2 separate regions of the Homo sapiens genome follow, and region 1 is linked to region 2. The links are contacts of gene promoters, found by promoter capture Hi-C in blood cells and fetal thymus (Javierre and others, 2016). All regions are on one chromosome and are shown on one strand. Each heading gives the region's core, a stretch centred on a gene start or on the middle of the fragment in contact. The rest is flanking DNA. Distances are from core to core; before and after follow the strand shown.

The links. The method cuts DNA at HindIII sites, captures the fragments that hold promoters and counts their contacts. A CHiCAGO score of 5 or more calls a contact.
Region 1: a contact is called between a fragment that was not itself captured here and the fragment with the promoter of BPIFB4 in region 2, in 7 of 17 cell types (megakaryocytes, non-activated CD4 T cells, endothelial precursors and 4 more). The highest score is 8.0, in megakaryocytes.

Annotation. Positions count from the first base shown.
Region 1 is chr20:32,782,170-32,786,366 of GRCh38, reverse strand. DNMT3B (DNA methyltransferase 3 beta) reads right to left here. Exons shown (of 23, transcript NM_006892.4): 4 at 1,508-1,609. Among named protein-coding and RNA genes, the nearest start is that of DNMT3B, 22 kb to the right of the region's middle. The HindIII fragment of the contact is 3,406 bases long and covers 1-2,993 here.
Region 2 is chr20:33,077,789-33,082,144 of GRCh38, reverse strand. It overlaps BPIFB4 (BPI fold containing family B member 4), which reads right to left and starts at 2,502. Exons shown (of 18, transcript NM_182519.3): 1 at 2,442-2,502; 2 at 1,569-1,676; 3 at 513-633. The coding sequence starts at 618. The HindIII fragment of the contact is 19,838 bases long and covers 1-2,763 here.

The DNA.
Region 1 (4,197 bases), core at 41-2,540, 290 kb after region 2:
GATGAGGTGGGACTCTGGACTGAGTCCAGCCAGAATTCCCCAGTTCTTGGAATAGAGGTGGTAGGGTGGCCAGCTAGGATGCCCGACAATTCCCAGCAGGTCCTGCTCTGCCTGTCACAGCAGACAGACATGGCCAGCTGAAATGGCACCTGCCAATTGGGATTGAAAAATAAAAATCTGGCCAAGCGCAGTGGCTCGCTCATGCCTGTGATCCCAGCACTTTGGGAGGCCAAGGCGGGCAGATCACTTGCAATCAGAAATTCAGGATCATCCTGGATAAAATGGTGAAACCCCATCTCTACTAAAAATGCAAAAATTAGCCAGGCATGGTGGTGGGTGCCTGTAGTCACAGCTACTCAGGAGGCTGAGGCAGGAGAATCACTTGGACCAGGGAGGCAGAGGTTGCAGTGTGCTGAGATCACGTCACTGCACTCCAGCCTGGGCAACACAGTGAGACTGCATCTCAAAAAAAAAGAAAAAAAAAGAAAGAAAGAAAGAAAGAAAAATTCGTGTTCACTCTAAAATAAACTTTTATGTCAAAGAAGCATAAGGCCAATTACTGGGTTCAGGAAGGCACCAGATCATCAAGATGGAATAGAATTCCTTAGGCTCCATGTTCATTGTCAAAAATGGCATGAATTTGGTTGTTGCAGAACCTGTGTCCAAATTATGCATAGAAGAGTTGATGTTTAACCTCAGTTAAGTTGCTGGAATCTTCTCTCATCTCCACAAAGGGGATGATACAGACCATATCCTGGGAAGGGAAGACTGTAACCCACACCTGGGATAGTAACTGTCAGTCTGGTCTCTAAAGGGCTGGGTGACCATAAGCAATAACTGCCTTCCCATTGCCATACCTCAAAACTCTGAGGCACAAAATCCACCCACAGAAATGGTGGACTCCCTAGGTCATTAGCAGCTGAGCCATCCACCCTGCAAACTCTATCACCCCTAGGCACCTCCAAGAGTGTTACAAGAAAGAACTTAAAAACCACCTGAAAGAAATGGCACATAGAGAAAACCTTCCAGCCGGGCGCAGTGGCTCACACCTGAAATCCCAGCACTTTAGGAGGCCAAGGTGGGTGGATCACCTGAGGTCAAGAGTTCGAGACCAGCCTGGCCAACATGGTAAAACTTCATCTCTACTGAAAATACAAAAACTGGCCGGGTGTGGTGGTAGGTGCGTGTAGTCCCAGCTACTTGGGAGGCTGTGGCAGGAGAATCACTTGGACCAAGGAGGCAGAGGTTGTTGCAGTGAGCTAAGATCACGCCATTGCACGCCAGCCTGGGCAACACAGTGAGACTCCGTCTCAGAAAAAAAAAAAGAAAAAAGAAAACCCTCCAACAATAGTCCAAGAGCCTTGCTTATATTTTCTAGTTTCAAAACATTTTTTCATCACTTTCTCTTAAAAGCTCCCCTAAGGAGCTATGCTATGTATGTAGCATGCTATGTATGCTATGTAGAGTGTTGGCCACAAGTGCTTTGGCTCGAGGTGTGGCTACTTACAGCTGGGCTTTCTGAACGAGTCCTGGTTTCCCGGAAGAGCTTTGGCATGACTGGGGTGTCAGAGCCATCCCCATCTTCCCCGTCGCCATCGCCTGTCAAGTCCTTTATAAGGAAACATGATGAACATGATGAAGACCCCAGGGTATCAGCAAGTCAAAGAAACAAGGCACCTGCAATATGAAAGACTGATCGCCTGTGCCTGGCAGGGAGACCGGGTCACTCATCACAACACACTGCATATGGGTGCAGACACAGACCAACCACGACAGATGCCCCGGAAGCAATGGCATGAAACCTGCACCATGTCATCAGGGCTTCCTCGTGCAGGCCTCACACCTCACACCAAAACCCAGCATAAGCCAAACACAAAAGCTGAAGCAGCGAGCAGCTAGGTCTGGCTGGAGTGTTAAGCACTTGCCTTCACTCACCAACTGTGTGGCTTTGAGTCCATTTCCCTCATTTTAAAATTGGAATAACAGTACTTCCCTCATAGCACAACAGGGTTACATCAAGAATCAAATAATATGCAGGGTGTGGTGGCTCATACCTGTAATCCCAACACTTTGGGAGTCTGGGGCAGACTGAGGTCACCTGAGGTCACCAGACCAGCCTGGCCAAGATGGTGAAACCCCATCTCTACTAAGAATACAAAAATTAGGCCAGGCGTGTAATCCCAACACTTTGGGAGGCCGACGCGGGTGGATCACCTGAGGTCAGGAGTTCAAGACCAGCCTGGCCAATATGGCGAAACCCTGTCTCTACTAAAAATACAAAAATTAGCAGGGCATGGTGGCATGTGCCTGTAATTCCAGCTACTCATACTCAGGAGGCTGAGGCAGGAGTACCGCTTAAACCTGGGAGGTGGAGGTTACAGCGAGCCGAGATCGCGCCACCGCACTCTAGCTTGGGGAACAAGAGTAAGACTCCATCTCAAAAAAAAAAAAAAATACAAATACAAATACAAAAGTTAGCTGGGCATGGTGGTGCACGCCTGTAAGCCCAGCTACTTGGGAGGCTGAGGCAGGAAAATTACTTGAACCTGGGAGGCGGAGGTTGCAGTGAGCCGAGATCGTGCCATTGCACTCCAGCCTGGGCGACAGACTGGAGACTCTGTCTCAAAACAAAACAAACAAACAAAAAGAAACGTGTGGGCAAGAGATTTCATTACTGTTTCTGGTAACTAGCTACCAGAAACAAAACAGCAGTGCTGAGCCTCTGATCCTGCAGCTGCCCTAATTCCTCCCAGGGCTTAGGTTCCCCACCTTCTGAGTCCCCTAAGTAGGTTGGCCACCACCAAGAGAATGGAAGCTGAGGGTGAGTTTTCATTGCCCAGGACTTTTATGACTGATACTGGCTCTGAGCAAAACCAACCCAATTGACAAACTCTACTAAGAATAATTAGGAAACAGACGGTGTCAGTAAAGGAAGGAACACAAAACAAGATGGGAAAGATCCAACCTTGGAAAAGTAAATGAAGTAGAAAGCTTGATAATGTAGCAAGTCTTAGAAGATATAATTGTTTGAAATTCATTAAAATAAGCTTAGACAAGTTTCTTCCAGCTTGTAAAAAAAATTCCTTGAGCCCACCTAATCCTAACATCAAAACCATAGATATATTTAAAGAAATAAAATGGGCCAGGTATGGTGGCTCACACTTGTAATCCCAGCACTTTGGGAGGCCGGGACAGGTGGCTCACTTGAGGCCAGGAGTTCGAGACCAGCCTGGCCAACATGGTGAAACCCCATCTCTACTAAAAATACAAAAAAATTGGCTGGGTATGGTGGTCCATTGCCTGTAGTCCCAGCTACTCGGGAGCCTGAGGCAGGGGAATCGCTTGGGCCTGGGAGGCAGTAAGTTGCAGTGAGCAGAGATCATGCCATTGCACTCCAGCCTGGGCAACAGACTTCATCTCAAAAATAAATGAATAAAAAAAAATACCCATTTCATTCATGAATACATGAATAAAATCAACTTCAAAATGCACCATAACCAAGTTGGACTCATTCCAGGAATAAAAAGACAGTTTGCTATACAGTAGTCTCCCCTTATCCAGGGGGGATACATGCAAGACCCCCCATGGCTGCCTGACACCTTGGAAGATGGAACCCTATATGTGCTCTGTTTTTGTCTATATCTACATACCTATGATAAAGTTTAATTTATAAATTAGGCACAGATTAACAACTAATAATAAAATAGAGCAATTACAATATACTGTTAATAAAAGCCATATGAATGTGGTTTCTCTCTCAAAATATCTTCTTGTACTCTATTCAGGGTTAATCTGTCCTTCCATGGTTTATGACCTAGTGTCTTCCTCCTTTGCACTTTTATGAAGGTAGGTTCTATTAGACATCATCTTCTGGAGGAGTCTGGTTTCACTGCAGTCTTAGTTTTGGATTGTTTCCTTTCTCAATCAACTTCAACTCTTCTGAAAATGTAGCAGCAGGTTTTTCATTGGCAAATGCAGCCTCTCCAGTCATTTTTATAGTTTTCAGTAGAAACCTATTCTTGAATCTATGTAACCATCCCTTACTTGAAGTAAATGGTTTGGTGTCAGGGGATCCCTTGCTATAGGCTCAATGCTCCCTGGCACAAAGCACTGCTGTCAATCAGAACATATTTCTGTTCATGTCTTCCACCTACAAATTTAATGCCTTTCCCATCTTAACTACACACTTATCACACA
Region 2 (4,356 bases), core at 1,253-3,752:
TCACATGCTAGATGACAAAAGCAAGGTCCTAAGAATTGGAGGCAAGAATAATTATAGCTCCCACTTTTGAGGGCCTTCTAAGTCCCAGGAGCTGTGCTAAGTTTTCAAAAGGTCATTTCATTTCATTCTCATATCAGTTCTCTGAGATAGAGACTATAATTACACCCATTTTACAGATAAAGAAACTGAGGCTCAGGGAACTCAAGTCATGAACTTAAGGTCACACAGTCAGGATTTGAACCCCACGAAGGCTGATCCAGGGCTCTTAATCATTGTTCTCTATTGCCTCTAAAGAATGAGCATAAAGTCACCAGTATGGTGCTTGGCACATAGTAGGTGCTCAGGAAATGGTAGTCAAAAGAAAAAGGAGAAACTAAGGCCCAGAGAGTAGAATTCACCCAGCCTCCCGATGTGAACTCTGCTAGCAGGAGGAGGTTCCTGGGTACTTCAGAGTTGGCAGAGCTGCCCTGCTCACCCCATGCCAACCCTCACCCCTTTGGGGCTGGACTCACCATTGCTCAACACATCTTTCGTCACCCTGAGGACCGTGTTTGTCTCGTGGCTGGTGCCACACACAGCCACCACAGACAGCGCAGCCACACACCAGGCCATCCACATGCTGGCACTGCTTCCCTGTGGAGGAGAAAGTGCAGATGCAGATGTGGCTGGGCGCCACCACCCTGGCCAGCAGGTAGCACTAGGCAGCCCCAGCCAAGAGTCATCTCAGGACCCTGGGACCCAGAGAGAGGGGAAACCAGCCAAGGTCACATACTAAGGCAGGGTCCAGAATTCCAGATACTACCTTTTGAGTTTTTCAAATTGAAATGAATCTGGTGACACAAAGCAGACCCATTAAACACACTGTTTCAGAGAATGGATGTCTAATTATCTCCCAAGATGGAATTGACAAATTGAGCATCAGGGAGATGGGTAATAGGGATTCCAACAAAAACACCAAACTGGGAGCTCGCAGGTTCTAAGGAACTCTCTCCAGCATCTACCCATCTACTCATCTACTCATTCCTCTACATCACTCACCCATCTACTCATCTACTCATTCTCCCCTTCGTATTTATTCTCCTATTCACCCATACATTCAACCTACTATCTTTCCATCTATCTATTACCCATCTGTCATGGAAACACCCAGCAAGCCATATATCTATCCATCCAACCAACCATCCATCCAACCAACCATCCATCCACTCATCAACTCATTCTCCTCCCTCTATTTATTAATCTGTCCACCCATCCCACCATCCATCCATCTTCCCATATATCTATCATCCATCTGTCATCCAAACAGCTGGCAAGCCATATATCCTCCTGCCCATCCATCTATCCAACCAACCATCCATCCACCCAGCTATCCATCCATCCATCCATTCATCTTTCCATCAGTTTATCTACTCATCAATGCATTCATCTAGCCACCCTTCCACACATCCAGCTCACCAGCAAACACTCTTCCCATCTCTTTGGAGGAGTCAGTTCTACACCACGTGGTTAATATTAATGGCTCTAGGTCAGAGATATCTGGGTCTTAATGCTTAGGAAAGGGACTTTACCTTTTTGAACTTCTGCTCCCAAATCACAAACAAGTTGTATCTCATACATAGTAGACACTCAATAAAGAGCAGCTATTGTTATTACTTTGGGACTGTTATTTCAGACCCCTAAGAAGTGGGTGAGGAATGTTATGAGATTGGGGAGGTGAAACATGCATTTTGGAACGAGCTGCATAGCCTCTGGGAAACTTTCTTTTGCTCCTTTTGTGCCCTCATCCACTTCTCTCACTCCATCAGCCCCGGCTACACATCCACCAACCTCAGAGAGTCAGCACAGGGCATGGCCTCTCATCTGAGCCAAGAAATTGTTGGTTTCAGCCACCTTTGTTTAGGCACACTCTCCTCTTTTTTCTGTCCCCATTTCTCTTGGACTTCACAGCGCCCCCAAATTCTTTCCCTACTCCTATCTGCTCCCAGAAGAATATTAGAGGCATTCATTTACACTAGAATATAAAGGACTACTATATGCAATAATTTTTTTCTGGCTTCCTCACCTCATCCTAACCTCACTTTCCAGAGAGCTGTGTTCAAAAAGGAATCACCCCTTTCAGTTAAAAAGATGGGCACCGATGGAAGATTTCTGGCATCAGCAAACAGCTGAGGAGTCTCCAGGAGGTAGCAAAGGCCCTCGGTACCCAACGTCCCTGGGAAAGATGAGTGCAGCTCTGCGCATGCATGTAATTGGCATAACCCAGGCCTTTTTGCTGATTCCCAAGAGGCTCTCCTGACTAGGCCCATGCTACAGACAAGACCCCTGAACTTGGAGAGGGGCCATCCTGATGGATCTCCAGGCTGGGACTCTCTCTCCTTATTACCTTCCCAGGCCTGTGCCTCCCCTGCCGGACACTGAGTAGACAAGGTGCGCCTCCTTACCCCTAGGAGGTCCCTGCCGCTGAGTCTTGAGAAGTCCTGTTCCCCAGCCCCTCTGCTTTTGGCTGAGTCTGGTCACAGATCAGTCTTATATAGCAGCCTGAGGCTGAGCCCAGACCCCAGAGAGGGAAACACTGTGTAATTACAAGAGACCGGAATTCAGATTTGCTCTGCAAATTGGGCATTGAGCCCCAAAACCATAAAGGTTTGCGGTTTGTGGCTAATTCCAAGACTTGCACTCAGCCCCAGATGGTGTCACATGAGCTGGGTTTTATCAGCCCTTGGGCTGGGCACATTCCCAGAGACCCCAGCTAGGCCTCAAGCTTGGGGAACTGGAATCACCCCCAGATGCATCTAGTTTCTAACTCTAAGGCAGGCACTAGCCATTCCAGATGATCTGGGTAGACAGGAGGTGCCCAGGCTGGACTCAGCATCAGGATGACCCAGGTTCAAACCCTGCTCAACCCCCAACTCACCGTATGACCTTGGGCCAGCCACTTCCCTCCTCTGAGCCTCACATTCTTTCCATCTGGCAAATGAGTATAATACCTGCCTCACAGGGCTGATTTTAGGACTAAAGGAGACGAATATGAATCCAGCTCCTCAAACTTGGGACTGGTGCACGAATGTGCATTTTTTTTATCTGAAAAATATTCCTCACTCATTTCTTAGGGGTCTGAAATAATAGTCCCAAAGTAATAACAATAGCTGCTGTTTATTGAGTGTTTACTATGTATGAGATACAACAAGGTTTTTCCCAACTATTTCCTCATGAAATTTTCATACCTATAGCAAAGGTGAAGGAAATGTACAGCGGACACACATGGTTGTCACGTTGTTCCCACCAACTATACCCACCATTTACATTCTTGTCATATTTGCATCCATCTGTTAGTCCATCTTTTATTTTTTATGCATTTGAAAGTTGCAGACATCAGTATACTACCACTAAACACTTCACCCTGCATGGCATTCAGATTCTTTTCTTTATATCTTTAAATACAGTGACATGCACAAATCTTAAATGTTCATTTGCTGAGTTTTGACCATTTTTTACGGTCATGCAGCCCACACTCCTATCACAATATAGAACATTTCCACCACCCCAGAATGTTCCGTCTGCCTTTTCCCAGTTGCACCCTCCAAAACCTGCTGGGACACAGCCCAGACCACTTCACTTGGCATCCAAGGCCTTCCGTACACACATCCCAGTCCTCTCTTCACACAGAGCTACTCATTCCTTCCATCCCCTCCTCATCACCCCCTGTGCTCCCTGCCTCTGGGCCTTTGCATGTGCAGTCCCTGCTGTCTACAAAGCCCTCTCCAGATTCTAAGGGTGAAAGGTAAGCAGCTGCAGGAAGCTTCCCCCAGCCCCTACAGTTCCTCTGGCCCATCCAGAGATCCCTGGGGCCCATAGTGAAGTGTTGTTTCTCCAGGCGAACCAGCTATGTGCCCCACTCCTAGGCCAGCACAGGCATAGATGCCAGTGTAACAAATGAACAAGTGAATGAATTAATTAACTCATCTTTCGCTCTCCACTGGACAAAGTGCTCCCTATCTTCCCACCCCATAGCCCCAACCCAGGTCCTACCTCCATGTTTAATCAATGCCACCTCCTCCCTGCTCCAACCCTGCCCGTCTGTGAATTCTGAGAGGCAGGAGACATTTCTGTCTCCACCAAGGCCTGCTTTCAAGTCAAACTGGGAATAAACGTGTTTTGCCCCTGACTCCCCAAGGAGATGCCTCCTCCTTCCTCCCTGGAGGCAGTGGGGACTCTAAGGCAGGCGTCATTGATATAAGTCCTGCCAAGCTCAACCGATGTCACCCCTCACTTCTGTGCCACTGGGCCAGTCCCACCTTGGAACTCAGTTTCCCCATCTGCAGTGGGTGCATTGATGGAACCGTTAAGAGCACAGGC